Regions from separate parts of the Homo sapiens genome. Here regions 1 and 3 are each linked to region 2. Evidence: promoter capture Hi-C in human tissues and cell types (Jung and others, 2019). All regions are on one chromosome and are shown on one strand. The core of a region is centred on a gene start or on the middle of the fragment in contact, and the rest is flanking DNA. Distances in the headings are between cores, read along the strand shown.

Region 1 (3,180 bases), core at 300-2,799, 140 kb before region 2:
GCAACCTCCACCTCCTGAATTCAAGCGATTCTCCTACCTCAGCCTCCCGAGTAACTGAGACCACAGGCATGTGCCACCACACCCAGCTAATTTTTGTATTCTTAGTAGAGACAGGGTTTTGCCATGTTGGCCAGGCTGGTCTCAAATTCCTGGCCTCAGTGATCTGCCCACCTCGGCCTCCCAGAGTGCTGGGATTACAGGCGTGAGCCAGTGCGCCCACCATGATAAATATTTTAAGCTTTGAGTGCCATATAGTTTCTGTTGCAACTATTTCACTTTGCTGTTGTACTCAGAAGGCAGCCATAGACAACACTTAAACAGATGCACATGGCTGCATTCTGATAAAACTGTAATAATGGATTCTAAAATTTGCATTTCATGTTATTTTCAAATGTCAGAAAATACTACTCTTCTTTTCATGTTTAACTATTCAAAAACATAAAAATCATTCTTAGCTCTTGAATTGTACAAAAATAAGTATCAGGCCAGATTTGGCCTGTGGTCTATAGTTTGCCCACTGCTGCTGCAACAGATTAATCAAGTGTTTCTTTTTGAAATGAATCAGCATTTCTGAAGCACTTCCAAGGAACACAGCTCATCTAATTTCCCAAATGAAGATATTATCATAAATACTCTATAAATGACAAGTTGCAAAGAACAGATGACCACGTGAACCTGAAAGTTAAAGGTTGTATTAAATTCAGATGCAAACAATTCACAATTCACAAGAATCCATTTATTAACAACAACAAAAAGCTTGCCTACATATTCGAATGCTTGGCAACAAGATGAATGTTGGTGGATAAAGCCATGGAAGGGAGTTCACAGCTATGATATGAGCTGCAATTGTATGATATAAGAGCAAATCACTTAAACTTTCTTGACTTCAGTTACCTCATCTATGAAATAAGCCCATTAGATTAGATTCTACCTAAACTTCCTTCCAGCTGTGAGTTTTCATCACGTCTATTGAGTTACAGCATAAAATAATTCATCTAGCCTGTATCTTGGAATTTATGAGCCCTGAATATGCAGACCATTACTAAGCCATGTTTGTCTTTGTTCACCATTGAATCCAATCCCAGGATCTATCCAAATGGCTAAAATATAGTAAAAATATAATAAATGTGTTGAATAAATTTTAAAAATACAAATTTCCTCACTTTACAAGATAATGTATAAAAAGTGATTGAAATAAGTTAATACATTTATTCATTTAGCAAATATTTTCTGAACAACAACTGTGTGTTAGGCACAGAAACTGGGCAGACACCAAGAGTAATAAGACAAGGAGGCTGGGCACAGTGGCTCACGCCTGTAATCCCAGCACTTTGGAAGGCCGAGGTGAGTGGATCACCTGAGGTCAGGAGTTCGAGACCAGCCTGGCCAACATGGTGAAACCCCGTCTCTACTAAAACAAAAATTAGCTGGACGTGATGGTGCGGGCTTGTAATCCCAGCTACTCGGGATCCTGAGACAGGAGAATTGCTTGAACCCAGGAGTGAGCCAAGATCACACCACTGCACTCCAGCCTGGGTGACAAGGCAAGATTCCAGCCTGAGCAATAGAGCAAGAGTAATAAGACAAGGTACCTGGCGAGGGAATTTCATAGTCTGATGGACCTAAGGGCAGAATGGGGTCGGGGTACAAAGGATGATGGGAAAATTTATTTATTTATGCCAATTTTCCTTTCAATTTGCTTTTATAATTAGAATATAAACATTTAGTAGAAAGAGTGAAATCTGAAATAAAAGTTGACTTCTATGTCTCTGTCCCAATCTTCGGAAATGAATAAATACTGGCCTGGTGCAGTGTCTCACGCCTGTAATCCCAGCACGTTGGGAGGTGGAGGCAGGTGGATTGCTTGAGCCCAGGAGTTGGAGACCCTCCTGGACAACCTGGCAAAACCCCATCTCTACCAAAAAAATATATACAAAAATTAGCCAGGCATGGTGGCGTGCACCTGTAGTCCCAGCTACTCAGGAGGCTGAGGCAGGAGGATCTCCTGAACCCAGGAGGCGGAGGTTGCAGTGAGCTAAGATCATGCCACTGCACTTCAGCCTGGGTGACAGAGTGAGACACTGTCTCATAAAACAAGCAAACAAAAAATTAAAAAATAATAAAAATAAAATAATAATTAAGAAATGAATAAATATTTTCTGTCATTTGCTCTTTCCCTAGCAAAATCTCTTTTTCACACATATATACACAAATACACACAAACACACATACACTCTGATTCTTTCAACTCATGACCTTTTATTTGTCATCTCTAAAAATGTTAATATTATGAAGATATGTTAATAAATGAGGATTGTTACATAAATGAAAATTTTAACTATGAAAGCTACAGTAGACAGACACGGAAAGTGTTGGCTCTAGATTCGGAAGACCATCATTGCGTGAACACAATAATGAACAGCACCAGACTGACAGGCGGGAGCGTAGCAACAGGCTAGGAGCATCAGAAAAGAACAGTCTACACAGACTGAGGTGGACGGCGAAGAGATGTGGCAGATTTTCTCTGTGAGTGCTCCCATTTTAATCAGTGAAATAATAAAGAAGCAAAGTCAAAACTGAGAATGATTAAGAGGAAGGGAAGAAGGTGTTGAAAGCTTAAGGCATAAGAAGTAATGAAATAATCACCCAGGACATTTTTTTTTCCTAAAATACACTCTAAGATAATTTTTTTAAATTATGTCTTTACTTTTTTTTTTTTTTTTGAGACAAGGTCTCGCTCTGTCACACAGGCTGCAGTGCTGTGGCATGATCTTAGCTCACTGAAACCTCCACCTCCCTGGATCAAGCAATTCTCGTGTCTCAGCCTCCCGAGTAGCTGGGACTACAGGCACGCACCACCCTGTCCAGTTAATTTTTTATATTTTTTGTAGAGACAGGGTTTTGCCATGTTGGCCAGGCTAGTCTTCAACTCCTAGCCTGCCCAAGTGATCCACCTGCCTCAGCCTCCCAAAGGATCTCAAGTGATTGCCTGCCTTGGCCTCCGAAAGTGCTGGGATTACAGGCGTGAGCCACCATGCCCGGCCTACACATTTTTCAATTGACATTTAAAATGTTTCATTGTGACTTCTTAAAGTTGCTAAGGATGTAACGCCTGGTATATTCTAAATATAGATATTTTAAATAAGACTTTTAAAAGGGTAGTCATTGGAATTTGACAAA
Region 2 (3,179 bases), core at 383-2,882:
TGTTTGGGTGGAGAGAAACATAAATCTGGCTTACGTGCACGTCCAGTCATAGTACTTTCCCTTGAACTTAATTATGACATAGATTCTATTGCTCACATGTTTGTTGCTGACCTTCTCCTTATTATAACCCTGCTCTCCTACTACATTCCTTTTTGCTGAAATAATGAAAATAATAATCAATAAAAACTGAGGGAACTCAGAGGCCGGTGCCGGTGCAGGTCCTTGGTATGCTGAGCGCCGGTCCCCTGGGCCCACTGTTGTTTCTCTATACTTTGTCTCTGTCTTATTTCTTTTCTCAGTCTCTCGTCCCACCCGACTAGAAATACCCACAGGTGTGGAGGGGCAGGCCACCCCTTCATAAAGGACACAAGAGGACTCACTCCAGGTATCATTGTGCCCTCCTTTCCCCAAGCATACACCCAAAGCAGTCTTCTCTACTATTTAAAATCAGGACATTAAGTGAACAGAACAGCTCTGTAGGCACAGTCACCACCCTAGTTTAAACCACTTATGTCTCTCTCCTAGATACACAATGGTGCCTCCAATTTCTGAAGTCTGTAGCTAAACTGACCTTTTCAAATACAAACAGAATCCTTTCATATTTCAACTGAAAACATTCCACTGGTCCTTTATTACTTTATGGAAGCAATTCTCAAATCTTACCTTGCATTATAATCACCTGGAGGTCTTGGTAAAAGATTGCCTGGGCCACATCCCCAGTTTCTGACTCAGTAGGGCTGGTTTTTTCCTAAGTTCCCAGATGATGCTGCTGGCCTGCGGACTGTACTTTGTGAACCTATGCTTTAAGGAAAACAAAGCAAAAAGATCCATTAAGATCTAGTCCAAGTTTTTTGCCTAGCTCCCATCATGTCACATATCACAGTTATGTGATTTTACAGCTACTCTGCAATTCTTTACCTAACTGTAAAAACCCCTCACCAGGCAGCAAGCTTCTTGGTGGCAATACGTCTCTAGCTTGTTTGAGGAATAAATAAAACCTGTGGTAGATTCCAAGCTCTCAGTTTCAACCATCATCATACTGGCTGATTCTTAACATGCCTGCACCTAAAGCGCCTCATCTACAAAGTTGAAATGATAATTCGTACCTGTAAGACCCTTGTGAGGATTACAGGATGCTTACATAGGTCGAGGGTGCAGACGACGTAGGCTGGTGGGTTCTCAACTGGCAGCTACCACTTCGCTCCCTTAACTCCCCAACCCCCACTCCCAAACACGTACATTAACTCTTTGAAGATAACATAGCCACTTCATAAACCCTAATTCAGATCATAACATTTAAAGCTTAATTGATACAGGCTCAACACCCCCATTCTAACTCTACAATCCTGAATTTTTCACAAGAGCTACGCCAGACACTAAGGAGATCCAGTCGTGGGCAGGCAGCGACCCGGAGGTTTAGGCACAGAGAATGTTCAAGAAGCCCCTGTCCAGTTAAGCCTCCTGGCGAGGCCCTTCTGGGCCTTTCCTGCGGCCTTCCCAGCTCACCTGGAGCAGACGGATCAGCAAATCCGGCCAAAGAATACTCAGGACCCACCGAGCCCCCGCGAGGAAGGACTCATACCCCAACCCCACCAAGTGGGCTGCTTCCTGCCTGGGGCTCAGCCTGCGCGGTGGTTGGCAGTTGCCCCGGAAGTGGGCGGGAAGGACCTGCGCATGCTCTGTGACCCTGGGTGCAGGGATTGTGTGAAGATTGAGAGCTGGGGGCGCCCTCTTCCGTGATCAGGGCCCCGTTGGCCCCAACTGGCATTTAATTCCCCTGGCTGTCTTTTCGGATTCTTATCACTTTTTATGTATATGAGTAAACTTGAGGGTCCAAGTAAGTCTGCAAGTTGGTTTTAAAAGCTTCACCAGCACAGCGTCCCCTCCCAGATGGTGAGGGAGTGGAGAGCTTTGCAGGGTCAACTGCTTCCCGTAGCCTGGGGTCGCAGGGTGGAGTCGTTGAGCACTCCCTATGCTTGAAAGAGGAATAGAAGCCCCTTTGGATTAGTTTGCATCTCAGTGGGTGAGTGGGTGGATCTCTCCCACCCTGTGGGATTGTGCCCTACCCTATGAACTCAGGTTTACCTGAGGAAGTGACATTTCAGGCGGAATTTGAGGGATGAAGAGGCATTCGTTGGATCAATTCCACGGTCAAAGTCTTCAAGGCTGGAAGAAGAGCCAATGTGGAGCCTCTCAACTTTAAAGAATTTAGTACAGGCCGGGCATAGTGGCTCACACCTGTAATCCAAGCACTTTCAGAGGCAGAGGTGGGAGGATCGCTTGAGGCCAGGAGTTCAGGACAAGCCTAGGTAACATTGCCAGACCCTGCGTCTACAAAATATTTTAGAAATGATTTTTTTTTCTTTTAATAAGAGACGGAATCTCTCTTTCGCCCAGGCTGGAGTGCAGTGGCGCGATCTTGGCTCTCTGCAACCTCTGCCTCCCAGTTTCAAGCAATTCTCCTGCCTCTGTCTCCCGAGTAGCTGGGTCTATAGGCGCACGCCGCCACGCCTGGCTAATTTTTTGTTGTTGTATTTTTAGTAGAGACGGGGTTTCATCGTGTTGCCCAGGCTGGATTCGAACTCCTGAGATCAGGCAATCCGCCCGCCTCGGCCTCCCAAAAGTGCCAGGATTACAGGCGTGAGCCACCTCACCCAGCCAGAAATGATAATTTTATTTTTATTTTTATTTTTTTTTTGAGACGGAGTCTCGCTCTGTGGCCCAGGCTGGAGTGCAGTTGCGTGATCTCGGCTCACTGCAAGCTCCGCCTCCCGGGTTCACGCCATTCTCCTGCCTCAGCCTCCAGAGTAGCTGGGACTACAGGTGCCTGCCACCACGCCCAGCTAATTTTTTGTATTTTTAGTGGAGACGGGGTTTCACCGTGTTAGCCAGGATGGTGTCGATTTCCTGACCTCGTGATCCGCCCGCCTCGGCCTCCCAAAGTGCTAGGAGTACAGGCGTGAGCCACCGCGCCCTGCCTAGAGATGATAATTTTTAAAAACTTGGTACAAAAGGAACTGAAAGAGGTCATTTGGTTGGCACTACAACGTGGGAAATTGCAAGAAGTATAAAATATGGAAAATGGCTTTGTGAGGCTGATGAGATAGGCGAGAATGAATGCTGCAAGGCCCTTTAGGCAAAATTGAGGATATTGGTTTTTATCAAATGCAAAGAAAAGC
Region 3 (3,416 bases), core at 20-2,519, 220 kb before region 2:
GGAAGTGCCTACATTTTCATGGCCTGGTAGCGTTCAGTGAAAATGTTCATTAACAGACACAGGCCATTCAGTCCCGAATCCCAAGACACTGAAGACTCTGTTTGAATCAGACTCACGGGTTCCTTCCTAGCCACTCTCAGGGACAGGAATGCTTCTGGTAAGTTTTTATAAATCCCCTATTTTATTTACCTCAAAACTCTCTCTCTTTTTTTTTTTTAACTAATTCATATGGACTAGAAATGTAATATTTAACTGCCACAGCTAAGAAATTTTACTTATTGTTCTTTCCTGGAGGTATTTTTTTTTTTTTTTTTTTTTTTTTGCTGTTAAAAAAAATGGCTAAAGAGGGAAGGAAAATTTTCTGTTTTGTAGAACAACTCCCCCTCAGAATATTTTTCTTCTCTTTTGCTATGTTTGGTTTATTTGTCCTAGTTTTGTTTTTTTCCAAAGCCAGAAGATATGTATTTGTATTTAATTCCAAGGTAGAATTAACCAAATTAAATTAAATCATACGATTTCACTCAGTTCTTATACTTTTCTATGCTGAAAGTATGGTACCATATTTTGGTGAAAGCAAGAAATAATTTCAAAGGAAATATTTTTAAGGGATGTAGTTAAATAATTATTTAAGTTTAAGGTTAAAAGCAGATAAATGACGGTATTTCCTCCTGAGTATGATAGAAATATTTTTCTATCATCAGATTTATGTTATTAAAAGCCTTTAGAAATACTCAGGAGGAAATACTGTCATTTATCTGCTTTTAGCCTTAAACTTAAAATAAATAATTATTTAACTACATCCCTTAAAAATATTTCCTTTGAAATTATTTCTTGCTTTCACCAAAATATGGTATCATATTTTCAGCAGTAGAAAAGTATAAGAACTGAGTGAAGTCGTATGATTTAATTTAATTAGAAATATTTTTCTATCATCCACAGCCACAGCCAGGCACGGTGGCTCATGCCTGTAATCCCAGTACTTTGGGAGGCCAAGGCAGGAAGATCACTTGAGGTCAGGAGTTTAAGACCAGCCTGGCCAAAACGGTGAAACCCTGTCTCTACTAAAAATGCAAAAATTAGCTGGACACGGTGGTGTGTGCCTGTAATCCCAGCTACTCGGGAGGCTGAGGCAGGAGAATCACTTGAGCCCAGGAGGCGGAGGTTACCATGAACTGAGACCACGCCACTGCACTCCAGCCTGGGCTACAGAGGGAGACTCTGTCTCAAACAGAAAGGAAAGGAGAGGAAAGGAGGGGGGAGGAGAGGGGAAGGGAGGGAGAGGAGAGGAGGGGAGGGGAGGGGAGGGGAGGGGAGGGGAGGGGAGGGGAGGGAAATCTGTGGCCAGCATTGTGTTGTTCTAGATATTCAACCTGCAAATCTGAGCTGAAGTATTATGGGATATGCCTTGAAAATTGAAATTGAATGAAACTGATGTTATTGATTTGCCTTTTGTCCCATGTGATAAAATATAAAAAACACACCCAGTTTCACACCAGTCTCTGGTGGGACAGAGACTAGCAATTACATCATCAACAATTTAAAAAATTCTTTGGAATGCAGTAGTAGCAAAGCCTTTTAGTTCCCAACACGTTGTTATGAAAATTGTTCAAACATAGAGAAAAATTGAAATAATTGTATCATGAACATCCAAATGCCTTCCATGTAGATTGTACAATTAGCATTTTGCTATATTGGCTTCTTTACATATTATCATCTCTCTGTACGTCCACTGATTCACCTTCTTTATTTTTATGATACCTTTTAAAGTTGAAGACCTCAGTAAACTTTACCCCTAAACATTTAGGAAAGTATATCACTAACTAGAAGTCAATATTTGTTTAACTATTTTCTTGAGATAAAATTCAATTAGAGTGAAATGCACAAATCATTAGTGTTATGATTCAATGAATTTTAATGGATATGTACATCTATGTAATCCAAACCCCCGTCAAGATATAGAGAACATCTCTGCACATGTATCCCAGAACTTAAAGTAAAATTTCTTTAAAAAGGAAACTTTAAAAAGTAATAATAGGCCGGGTGCGGTGGCTCACGCCTGTAATCCCAGCACTTTGGGAGGCTGGGGCAGGCGGATCACAAGGTCAGGAGATCAAGACCATCCTGGCTAACATGGTGAAACACTGTCTCTACTAAAAATACAAAAAAAATTAGCCAGGTGTGGTGGTGGGCGCCTGTAGTTCCAGCTACTCAGGAGGCTGAGGTAGGAGAATGGCATGAACCTGGGAGGCGGAGCTTGCAGTGAGGCGAGATCACGTCACTGCACTCGAGACTGGGGGACAGAGCGAGACTCTGTCTCAAAAAAAAAATAATAATAATATAAACAAATAAAAAGATATAGAGAACATCAATATGGCTCCAGATCTAGAATGCTCTTTCCTTTTACCTAATCAAGTTCTACCCCTGCCTCCAGATGTAAACAATCTTCCTCTCTACATAGTATGTATGTTCAATGTTTTCTTCAGATTCATTTGTCTTGTATGTATCACAAAATCGTTCTTTTTAATGTTGAGTAGGATTCCATTATGTAAATATGTAATTTGTGTATCCATTCTCTTGTCAATGGACGCCTGAGTTTTGTCCAATTCTTGGCTAGTATGAATAAGCCTGCTATGGGAGATAAGTGTTTCTCTGAACATATGTTTTCAGTCTGTTGTGTAAATACCCAGAAGTGGAACTTCTAGGTCATACTGTAGTTATAGTTTATTTTATAAAAGACTTCCAGAGATTTTTTTCAAAGGAATTGTATCATTTTAACACCCTAACATTGTATGAGCATTTCAGTTACTACACATCTTTGCCACTCTTAGGGTTTTGGCTTTGATTTTAGCTATGTTAGTGGTTAGGCAATGCTATCTTATTGTGATTTTATTTGCGTGTATCTGATGATGAATGTCGTTAAGCATTTTCTCTTAGGTTTATTGGTCATTTGCATATGTTCCTTTGTGAAATGTCCATTCAAATATTTGGGCCATTTTTTTAAAACTTGGATTGTCTTTTTGTTATTGAGTTGGAGTTTTCATAAGTATGTATTGCTGATACAAGTTCTTCGTCAAATATGCATTTTGTTAATATTCTCCCCAATCTGAGCCTTGCCTACTCATTTTGTTAATGATGCATTTTGATGAGCACTACCTTTAAATTATGATGAAAAGTCTAATTACAAATTTTTGTTTGGCTATTAATTTCCATGTCCTATCTTAAAAAGTCTTTTTTTTACCATTAAGTTGTAAAGACACTCCACTATGCTTTTTTTTTTAGAAGTCTTACTGTTTTAGCTTTTACATTCAGTTCTAAGACTATGTTGAATTTATTTTTCATATGTTGCTGAAGCAGAAATAGAAGTTCCTTTTTTTTTTCCTATAAATGTCTCATCGTTCCACCACTGTTTTCAAAAA

What was found. The method cuts DNA at HindIII sites, captures the fragments that hold promoters and counts their contacts. A contact is called where the count stands out against the background at its distance.
Region 1: a contact is called between a fragment that was not itself captured here and the fragment with the promoter of TRIM61 in region 2, in 2 of the 25 tissues and cell types used here (H1 embryonic stem cells and mesenchymal stem cells).
Region 3: a contact is called between a fragment that was not itself captured here and the fragment with the promoter of TRIM61 in region 2, in 1 of the 25 tissues and cell types used here (thymus).

The regions. Positions count from the first base shown.
Region 1 is chr4:164,832,421-164,835,600 of GRCh38, forward strand. No RefSeq gene overlaps it. Among named protein-coding and RNA genes, the nearest start is that of APELA, 43 kb to the right of the region's middle. The HindIII fragment of the contact is 4,934 bases long and covers 1-3,180 here.
Region 2 is chr4:164,976,025-164,979,203 of GRCh38, forward strand. TRIM61 (tripartite motif containing 61) reads right to left here and starts at 1,633. Exons shown (of 3, transcript NM_001414904.1): 1 at 1,507-1,633; 2 at 664-801. RefSeq lists enhancers at 1,742-1,821, 1,852-1,911. The HindIII fragment of the contact is 6,036 bases long and covers 1,127-3,179 here.
Region 3 is chr4:164,754,255-164,757,670 of GRCh38, forward strand. SMIM31 (small integral membrane protein 31) reads left to right here. Exons shown (of 3, transcript NM_001352885.1): 1 at 1-157. Among named protein-coding and RNA genes, the nearest start is that of SMIM31, 1.8 kb to the left of the region's middle. The HindIII fragment of the contact is 6,494 bases long and covers 1-3,416 here.